Regions from separate parts of the Homo sapiens genome. Here regions 1 and 2 are each linked to region 3. Evidence: promoter capture Hi-C in 16 types of primary human blood cells and fetal thymus (Javierre and others, 2016). All regions are on one chromosome and are shown on one strand. Each heading gives the region's core, a stretch centred on a gene start or on the middle of the fragment in contact. The rest is flanking DNA. Distances are from core to core; before and after follow the strand shown. Region 1 holds the start of ZFP69B (ZFP69 zinc finger protein B). Region 2 has its middle 25 kb from the start of PPT1. Region 3 holds the start of COL9A2 (collagen type IX alpha 2 chain).

The links. The method cuts DNA at HindIII sites, captures the fragments that hold promoters and counts their contacts. A CHiCAGO score of 5 or more calls a contact.
Region 1: the fragment with the promoter of ZFP69B here is called in contact with the fragment with the promoter of COL9A2 in region 3 in 1 of 17 cell types (neutrophils); the score reaches 6.1 in neutrophils.
Region 2: a contact is called between a fragment that was not itself captured here and the fragment with the promoter of COL9A2 in region 3, in 2 of 17 cell types (total B cells and erythroblasts). The highest score is 6.3, in total B cells.

Annotation. Positions count from the first base shown.
Region 1 is chr1:40,448,650-40,451,860 of GRCh38, reverse strand. ZFP69B (ZFP69 zinc finger protein B) reads right to left here and starts at 1,385. Exons shown (of 5, transcript NM_023070.3): 1 at 773-1,385. The coding sequence starts at 899. It overlaps ZFP69B-DT (ZFP69B divergent transcript), which reads left to right and starts at 1,822. Exons shown (of 5, transcript NR_198977.1): 1 at 1,822-2,041. RefSeq lists an enhancer at 92-1,291 and a silencer at 1,507-1,766. The HindIII fragment of the contact is 15,908 bases long and covers 293-3,211 here.
Region 2 is chr1:40,120,579-40,123,886 of GRCh38, reverse strand. No RefSeq gene overlaps it. Among named protein-coding and RNA genes, the nearest start is that of PPT1, 25 kb to the right of the region's middle. The HindIII fragment of the contact is 1,890 bases long and covers 1,064-2,953 here.
Region 3 is chr1:40,315,973-40,319,297 of GRCh38, reverse strand. COL9A2 (collagen type IX alpha 2 chain) reads left to right here and starts at 2,012. Exons shown (of 32, transcript NM_001852.4): 1 at 2,012-2,175. The coding sequence starts at 2,101. RefSeq lists enhancers at 1,881-2,517, 2,518-3,154 and a silencer at 2,328-2,837. The HindIII fragment of the contact is 22,313 bases long and covers 1-3,325 here.

The DNA.
Region 1 (3,211 bases), core at 136-2,635, 130 kb before region 3:
GGGATTACAGGCATGAGCCACCACACCTGGCCTCTTTCTACCTTCATTATTGGCACGCATTTTCTGTAAAAAGCTTTCCCTCACCAACTGAAGAGGATCTAAAAGGCAAGGTAAATGCACATTCATTCCCATAATAACCTATTTTTCAAAGTAAGGAATCAGTGTATTAATTACCTCCAATGTTTGCAAATGAATTCCCCCCCCCCCACGTCTTTCTCTATTTTAAGTGTCAAGGTGATCATGTGGAATTTTACTTATTCAAGGTGTTACCATCAGTTTGGATACTTAAGCTTTCCCAAATCTGTCGAGTGAGAGACCCTTAAACCTGGCCTCTTTTGACACATATCCATAGTCTTTAAGCTCTTCCTTGCTTTCTAGCACAAGTTACTCCAGGCTCACCTGGTACTTCCCCTGCTGCTTCTCTTTCTGACCTAGCCACCAAGTTCCTGTGTGACCCTGGGCAGGCCTCCCATTTGATTTACATTTCCCCACTGTTAGAATAAGAAAAATCAGGTTAAGTCCATCCTGCCCCACATGGCCATGGGAAAGATGAAAATAAATAATATACATAACCATGACACTGAAATACTGGTCCTAGGCTGAAAAGACCACCACTACTTAGGAAAACCCCAGACTAGGAGCCACAATCAACAACTCCGGAAACCCTCCACCCACTCGTCTCCCTAAGAGATGCTTCCACTCAAGTGACTCATTCCTTCTCACACTAGAGGGGACTGCTTTTCCTCCCTCCCACCCATCAGTTTATTCTTACCTTCTGCTTTAAACATCTTAGTCACATCCTCCCACAGGGCCACCCGCTCCGTGGCCGCCTTTGGATGACGCAACTTCACCCAGGTGCTGGCCTCGGTGGGCAGGGTGATCAGGAGCTGCTGCAGCATGACGGCGTCCGCACTCCTTTCTGAGGACCCTCTGTCTTAGCCCATAGGGCTTGTCCACCTCTGATGAGGAAATTGCTGGAAGCTCTGACAGGAGGCTTCCCAATTGTACCGATCTCCTTAATCGCCGACTCCTACTCCTCAATGTCCTCTCTCAGGAACCCAGGGAACATACAGTATCAAAATCCGAGATCTGGACTTGTGTCTATCATCGGCTCTCAGGGCGTATCTCCCAACTTGAGCTCCATCTGTCTCCTTGGCCAGCAGCTGGAGGCGCCAAGTATTTACTCTCAGCAGCCCCTGCAGATGCTGAGCAGAAGACATTAGAATCAGCAAAGGACTAAGGAGGCTCAGTCATAGGGCAGAACGCTAGAACATATATGGATCACTGTAAAATGTTTCCAAAAGATACACGGAGACGGTGGGCAGACACAGCCCACAAAATTCAAAGCACCGCGCACATGTCAGGAAGCACAAAGAGACGAATACAACCCAATTCTTTGTTTGGGGCAGTAATTATGTGTAAAGTAGCCGGGGATTTGGAATCCCAGCTCTTTCACTAGTCGGCTGTAGCAAACCGCGAAACCGCTAGACCCCGCCTCCTCCTCCCCAAATGAGAGGCTAAGTCCTCCCCACAAAGCAAAACGCCCCCGGCCCTAGCCTCCCAGCCTTTGTCTGAGCACGACTCCGGGGCTGCGGAGAGCACCGCGCGCGACAGGGTGGCCGCGGGCGGAACTCGCGCTTCCCGGCTCGCCCAGCTCCCCAAGCCCGGGACAGCCACCCGCTCACCCTCTCCCCGCTGGGCCGGCACGCCCCCGCCTTCCCACCGCTGCAGCCGGGTTCCGGCACTGCGCGGCCAAGCTCCCACGTAGCGCTGCGGCGGGCAGTCGGGGCCCAGTGCGCCTGCGCAGCGGCTGGCTAGAGCATGGTTCCCAGCGTCCTCCCGGGGAGCCGCTCCGCCAGCGCAGACGCCCCCACCGGTGCGCGCCGGGTTGGCTGCGTTCAGGGGCTCCCAGTATCCGATCCCTGCGAGCATCATCAGCCTGGCTCCTGCGGGAGGAGATGGAGCCTGCGTTCTTGGGCCCCAGACTCTGATGAAGAACAACCATCTTTCCTCCGCTGGGAAAATGCACGTGAACGTTAGGGTGAGCCTTTGAAACCCGTGACAAAAGGGAGCCATCGGCATCACGTTTTTTGGTGAAACGACACTGGTGTAAAATAATCCATAGCACTTTCCCTAAATATTATGTACATGCCAGTTATTTATTCTCAGCAGACAGTTGAATGGATTCCGGTATATTGTTAAAAGAATACCACAACAGTTTTCTCTTCTAGTATTCAATAAAAGTTCTCATGTTTATTGCTTACCTTGTATTTCTGAAATGCCAGAAAATACACAAAAACAAAAAAATTATTGCCTGTAATTTCAGCAAGCAGCGGTAACCTTGCTAACAGTTGGTGTACAACCTTTCCTGCACACACACAACGTATTTCATGCATTGTTATATATTTTCCACAAAAGCGATTATACTGTAATGCTGTTTTATTGCTGAGTTTTCTCCCTCCAACAAAATTTGAGTACATCACTCCAAATACATTTCTACATCAACAGTTTACAAAAACAACAAATGAGGAAATAGAATACAATTATAGTACTTGCTAGCTGTTATGAACCGAATGTTTGGATTCCCCAAAATTTATCTTGAAGCCCTAACCTCCATTGTATTTGGAGAGTATTTAGAGATAAGGCCTTTATGGAAGTAATTAAGGTTAGAATATAGTCCTAGTCAGAAACGAACCCAACTCGACCTTACTTGGGGCTTCTAGTCTCCACACTGAGAAAATAAATTTCCGGTTTTTTGTTTGTTTGTTTGTTTGTTTTTTTGAGATGGAGTCTCGCACTGTCCGCAGGGCTGGACTGCAGTGGCGTGACCTCGGTTCACTGCAACCTTCGCCTCCTGGCTTAAAGCGATTCTCCTGCCTCAGCCTCCCAAGTGGCTAGGATTACAGGCGCCCGCCACGACGCCCAGCTAATTTTTTGTATTTTTAGTACAGACGGGGTTCCACTATGTTGGCCAGGCTGGTCTCAAACTCCTGACCTCGGTGTCTGCCCGCCTCGGCCTCCCAAAGTGCTGGGATTACAGGCATGAGCCACTGCGCCCGGCCAGATATCCGTGGTTTAAGCCACCCAGTCAATGGTATTTTGTTACAGCAGCCCAAGCTGATGAATACACTAGCATATAATAGTTACAGAATATGAGGCTCTGTCCTAAGTGCCTTTCATATTTTAACTTATTTTGTCATCACAGAAACCA
Region 2 (3,308 bases), core at 759-3,258, 200 kb after region 3:
CTTTCAAATCCACCCACAAGAAACAATTGAATGGAGCCCTCCTAACATGAGGCTATTTTAAGAAGGGGAAGTATGCTTATTTATTGGGTACCAATAGACAAAGGAGTAAGCAATGACCCAACAGCCTCATTCTCCCTAATTGCCCATCCTTCTCCTAGCAGTGTTCTCCCTCAGGATGGAGGTGCCTGGAAGTGCTGCTAGTGGCCACTCCTGAACCACAGACTATCCTGGGTTAACATCTTCAGTTGTATATTCAGAAGGAAAAAGCCAAGGACCCATCTGTGGTCTCAGGGTATCATCTGAACAAGCAATATACACCCAGCGAAGAACACTCTGTCCCCTTAGAGAGTTTCCAGTCCTTTCCCACATAAACAGACTAACACCTGCACTCCTTGCCTCATCTTCAGGGCACGTCTGTCACAAACAGAACTTTCAGAAATCCTTTATGAAGGTATAGACTTCAAACTCCTGTGAGTTTGGTTATTATGAGTCTACTCTTTGAGCCTAATCCTCTTTGGGCACACTGACAGAGCTCAGACCCTGGGCTAGGAAGTCCCTGTTTGGCCAGCTTGTCAGCCTCTTTTGCTGTCATCCCTAGTTCACTTAAATGGAACTGCAAGAGTTACAACATTCTGTATATTTCAATTAACATTACTGTACTAGGGAAAGTAGTGATGCTTTCTTTCCAGTTGGAGATTTATTGTCTCTAAATTGGGGGTCTTCTCAATCCAAGTTTGCCCTGTGAACATGTTGTGAAATTGTCATCTGAAGCAGGCCCCTCAAAGATGGTTGAGAAGCCTTGCATTTTCCTGAAGAGCAGAGGACACTGTTTATCTTGGCAGAATTCCAAGCCCAATCAGTAGATATGAAAAGCAAGAAGAAAGGAGCATGTGTTCAAAGTTTTTCTTATCAAGTCTTTAGAGTGCAGGCCCTGGGAAAAATGCTGCAGGTACATTAGGATGGAAAGACTATGTTGGGAGAAGGCCCTTGGCTAATGAGAACATAGGTCTGGTAGAATATTGAGGAGCCCTTTAAGGAGAAAACAATTAGCTTTTTCAAAGCTTTCCTTTTAGAGACCAACTCACTATTATTAGTAAATTAAGACATACTAAGAAATAGATTATTCAAGAAAAAGGACTTCAGCCACAGAAGTAAAATGGGCAGAGTTAGAGCAAGAGGGAGCAAATATTCAATAGGAAGCAAAGAGTAAACAATACATGCATTCGTTGCTAGTAATAAGGTAAAAAATGCAAGAGAAAGCACATTAAGGGTTCTATTTGACCTTTCTCAAATAAAGAAAACTGTATTTAAAATAGTAGCCCCCATTTCTGATGAGATTGTGATAAAATTGAGGTGAGGATAGGAATGAAAATAGGAATACCATTTGGGAAAACAAAATAGCCATAATTAGCAAAAGGCTTTTATTGAGTGTATAGTTCAATGACTTTTAATATATTTGCAGAGTTGTACAACCATTACCACAATCTAGAAACAGTCTTGAAAATATTAATATCCTTGAAATTACTCCTGGATCAAGAATTAATAATAACAGCAGTTGTTATTCTGTATAGAGTACTAACTCAGAACCAAGCACTTTACATGTAATTTATTCATTTCAATTCTCACAACAATCCTATGAGGAAGGTGTTATTAGTGACCCTTCTTGATAAATGAAATACTGAGATATAGAGAAGTTAAGAAATTTGCCCAAACTACCATGGATAGTGTTAAAAACCAGATCATCTCTTTCCAGAACCTATACACATAAGCAACTACTACACTATAAGGAAATAATACAACAAAAGTAAAAAGCTCCATGCAGGAAGAGTTAATTACAGAATTCTGTAAGATCCAATAATGGGCATAAGTTAAATGGTCTACAATCCACAAAGAATAGGTTTAGTAGATTTTGGTGTGTCTGCTACTCAGCCATAAAAAGGAAAATAGTAGACCCTGTACAAATAAGGAAAATATTTATGATATTCAATAGCACAGTATAGTAGTTGTTGGATGAATGAATAAGCCAGCATAGCCCCTGCCTTCTTCAATATCAGTCCTTCACAAATGATCTTCAATTGCTATATACCCAGGGCCAAACCCAGTGTCTTCAATGCACGGGGCTCTCCAAGTGGCTGTGGGGTGGTAAGATCTCTTCACTGGGTGAGCCACAGGAAATGACTCCAATAGTCAGGTTCCTTCTGAGCTAAGACCTGGCTGGGCATTGGAGATGTTCTCCAAGGACAAAGGTATTTGTTTTTGTTTTTGTTTTTGTTTTTTGAGATGGAGTCTGTGTCGCACAGGCTAGAATGCAATGGCGCAATCTTGGCTCACTGCAACCTCAACCTCCTGAGTTCAAGCAATTCTCCTGCCTCAGAGTAGCTGAGATTACAGGCACGCGCCACCACGCCTGGCTAATTTTTGTATTTTTAGTAGAGACAGAGTTTCACCATGTTGGCCAGGCTGGTCTCAAACTCCTGACCTCAAATGATCCGCCTGCCTTGGCCTCCCAAAGTGCTGGGATTACAGGCATGAGCCACCGTGCCCAGCCCCCAAGGACAAAGTTTTGATGGTGTCCTCTGTGTCTGCAAAATATTGAAAAGACACCTGCATGTGAACAAAATCTGGAAGACAGTATGCAAAAAATTAAAACAGTTGCAATGTTTGCTGGAAGAATTGTAGGAGGTTACTTACTTTTAAAATTTTTTCTGCAATGTTGTTACACTATCTTTTTCAGCAATGTTTTGAAGAAAAGGGATCTCCTTGATCTTCATCTTGATGTTCCTAAGACAAAAGCCAAATCAATGAATGACTCATTGCTGGCCACATCTGACCCAAATGTTAGACACTGACAAGACTCCATCCTCCAAAGAATATCTTGGTTAGAAGTATTTAATTGTTCTAGGTTCTGGAGATATGGCAAAGCATAAGATTGAATCCCTGCTCTCTCAAAGCTTACATACTAGAACTGTGTTGTCCAGTACAGTAGCCACTGGCCACATGTGGCTATCTAAATTTAAATCAGTTAAAATTAAATTAAATTAAATTAAAAATTCTTTTACTCATTCACACTAGCCACATGTCAAGTGCATAGGAGTCATATGGTAACTAGTGGCTACTATATTGGACAGCTCAAATATAACAATACTTCCATCATTGCAGAAAATTCTACTGGTTAGTCCTCCTTTAGACAGAAGAGTTTGATAATAATCAAGTAAACAAAAATGGACAAGAGTAAACATTGCTCTGAAGAAAATAAAAAACAGTGCTGCCTTGTATTGTAGACTGATGGTCTTGGGAAGGCATCTCCG
Region 3 (3,325 bases), core at 763-3,262:
ACCAGCAGAGTCACTCTCAAATTCCTAATCCAAAGAAATTGTCATTTTAAGCTGCTGAATGTTAGGGTGATTTGTTATGGTGCAACAGGTAATTAATACATCAATGTGTGCTGTCCAGACTGTGAAACTCATCCTCTTTCCATAATTTCCACACACAAAAAGAAAACTTACTCACACAAGGCCTTTCTTGTGGTTAGCCCACAAAAGATGGAGAGATAAGTGATGTGAAACAAACAACTTAAAATTGAATTTGGACATCCCAGTTCTAAAAATCCTTTATAGGTTTACCCCACCCACCCCAAGCAATGCCCACCATCCCTCTCTTACATCCTCCTCCTCTTGCTCTCATCTTCCAACAAACTTCAAATTCTTCTTCACTCTGTTAGGCAGAGCAATTACATTCTCTCAAGCTCTTTCTCCCAAACTCAGCTCCAGGACAACCTTTCAAAATCCAGAGCCCTTTGCTAACCTGCCCAATGGAGTTGGACTTTTCTAGCTTCAACTAGGTTCATCATTTTAGCTGATCTGCCTGTGGCCAGCTTCCCCACATTGGATGCCAACCTAGTAAAACAGTCATCCATAAATCATAAGGAAAGCTAAAATGTATCAAGCACCTACTATGTGCTGGTTCGAGGTTAAATGCCTCGCATGAGTCATCTCATTCAATTTCCACAAAAACCCTTTAAGATAAGGACAATTTGCTGGGCACGGTGGCTCATGCCTGTAATCCCAACACTTTGGGAGGCTGAGGCAGGCAGATCACCTGAAGTCAGGAGTTCAAGAGCAGTCTGGCCAACATGGCGAAACCCCATCTCTACTAAAAATATAAAAATTAGCCAGGCATTGTGGCTCATGCCTGTAATTCCAGCTACTCGAGAGGCTGAGGCAGGGGAATCATTTGAACCCGCGAGGCGAGGTTGCAGTTAGCTGACATCGTGCCACTGCACTCCAGAGCCTTTTAAGACTCTGTCTTAAAAAAAAAATATATATATATATATATATGGACTATTAGTATCCCCATTTTACAGATGAGGAAAATGAGACTTCATAGAGTTTGGGGTGCCTGTGGTCATATCTATAATTGTGAAAAAGTCAGATTCCAAAGCATTTTACCAATATTGCCTAAGTGAGTGGGAGGGAAGGGAAGGCTCTCTGGAGTCGGGCTATGCTGGACAGCGGGGTTCGGAAACTCTGGTGAATAAAGTGGTAGTTGTTTCTATGAACATGGAGTGAGAAGGCCCAATCCTAAACACACCAGTGCTTAAGGCAGCTGCAGAGAATTAAAGGCAATAGAAAAAGGGGAGCTGGATGGCAGGAGCTTGGATGGGGAAGACTTCAAGGGCAGGTGAAGATGCCAACAGCTTCCTGCCTGGAGGACCGAAGAAGGGTTGGGCTTCACTGCAGACCTCCAGGAGACAGATTTGCTTGTTGGGACAGAGTAGGGAGGTGAAAGCGAGGTGAGGAAGTTCGGGGGTGGGGGAGGTGCACACAGCTCCACTAAAGAGCTGGAAGAGGCCGATGGAGTATTCATGAGACGGCTGATCCAGGAAGGACTGTGGCATATTAATATGGAAAAGGCCTGTTTGTTTGTGCTTGGAGAGGAAGGAGCCAGAGGAGAGGGGAGCAAGGTGGGCGGGAGCTGGGGAGAGCCTGCAGCAAGATCTGCAGAGCCCGAGGTGCTCTCGGCCTGGGCCCTGGAGAGGACGTAGGGTAAGTGATGGGGCACAGGCTGTGCGTCAGGGGGAAGGTGCTGGGGCCTGAAGGTCCCGAGGGGAACCTCAGACGGCCTTATGCCTTCTCACAAAGAAACTGGACCATCATCTCCGACCCGCACCCCGGTCGCCCCTCGAGGACAGAGGGTGGGCGCAGGAGGCTGGACCGAGCGGGGCGGAGCTGGATGCCTGGCGCCGGCCTCCCTCCCGGCAACCCCGCCGGTCCTCTCAGGTGACAGCTCACGCCGGCCCCCGCCCCGCCCCCCGCATATTCAGGAGCCCCAGCCCACCCTGCCCGCGAACAGCCAGCGCTGGAGGAGCGCCGGGAGACTCTGCCGTCGGTGCGTGCGCGGACACGCACCCGTCCCCCTTGGTCTCGCCGCCAGCCATGGCCGCCGCTACGGCCTCCCCCCGCAGCCTCCTTGTTCTCCTCCAGGTGGTAGTGCTCGCTCTGGCGCAGATTGTAAGTTTCGCAGCCCCTCCGCTGCCAGGGTCCAGGGTGCGGGGTCTGGAGTCCGGGATGGAGGAGCTCTGCCTGTGTCCCGCGCCTACTGACACCCCTAGCCCGAGAGGCCACCTGAGGACAGCGCCGCGGGCAGGTCCCCTCGGTGGGTGCATACATGGTGCCCATCGCGGCACCGTGAATGGAGGTGGCTGAGCCGGAGAGTCAAACGGGACCCGTCCCCAGACGCGCGGCCCGGCCCGGGACAGGCAGCGTGGGGCAGGAGCTGGCGCCCGGTCCTGGCAGCCCGGGGAGCCCAGGTGGCGGGGCATACAATGGTGCTCATTCACCCGCTGCGCAGCCTCCGCCCCCGCCGCCTCCCAGGGGGCGCCGGCTCCAACCAGACGCCGCTGTCGCCCCGAGGCGGCCTCTCGGCCCTGCCCGCCTACCCACGTCTCCCTTCCGAGGGCCGCCGGGGGCTGCGGGCGCGCGGGTAGGGCAGAGACTGGGCCCGGTCGGGTGCTGGGTGTGGTTTCGAGCTCGCCTGCGGGGCGCCAGCCTGGCACTTCGCGGCCTGGGGAGGTCGTGGGCACCGGGACCCCTGCCTGGGTCCGAGCTGGCCTCTTAAAAGGGCCGCCTTTTAAGATCTCTGATCTGTTCAGAGATGGGCAGCAGGATGGAGACTCTCCAGCTGTGAGCTCGCCTCATCTTGATATGACTTGTGACCTCCCTGAAACCTCACACCCACCCAGGGGCATTGAATTGCAGGCAAACGGGATCCAGAGAGAGGGTCTGCTTTCTGGGAGGTGCCGGCTCCTCCTGCTCCCCTGCAGCAGTCAGGGCTTAGCAGAGGGAGGACCGGGCAGCTGTGCTGCCGAAGGGGCGCTCCGAGTGGGAAGATAGTACCCGCTTCACCTCCCTACACCTCCTTTCTCTGCGCCTCCCCCACTTTCCCGTCGGGTTTTCCCGCACCATGGGGAGAGGAGGAGGCGCTGTCTCTGCCTGTCGTTCACGTAAGAACAACAACCCGAGCCACCGCTCACTGAGGGCCGGCAGCCTGCTAGGCACAACCTTACATTCCATCTGTGATTTATTTGAGCTGTCCACGTCTCCATCTATTCCCCACCGCGACCGCGCAAGGGCAAACTGGCACAGTGGAAGGAGTCGGGCA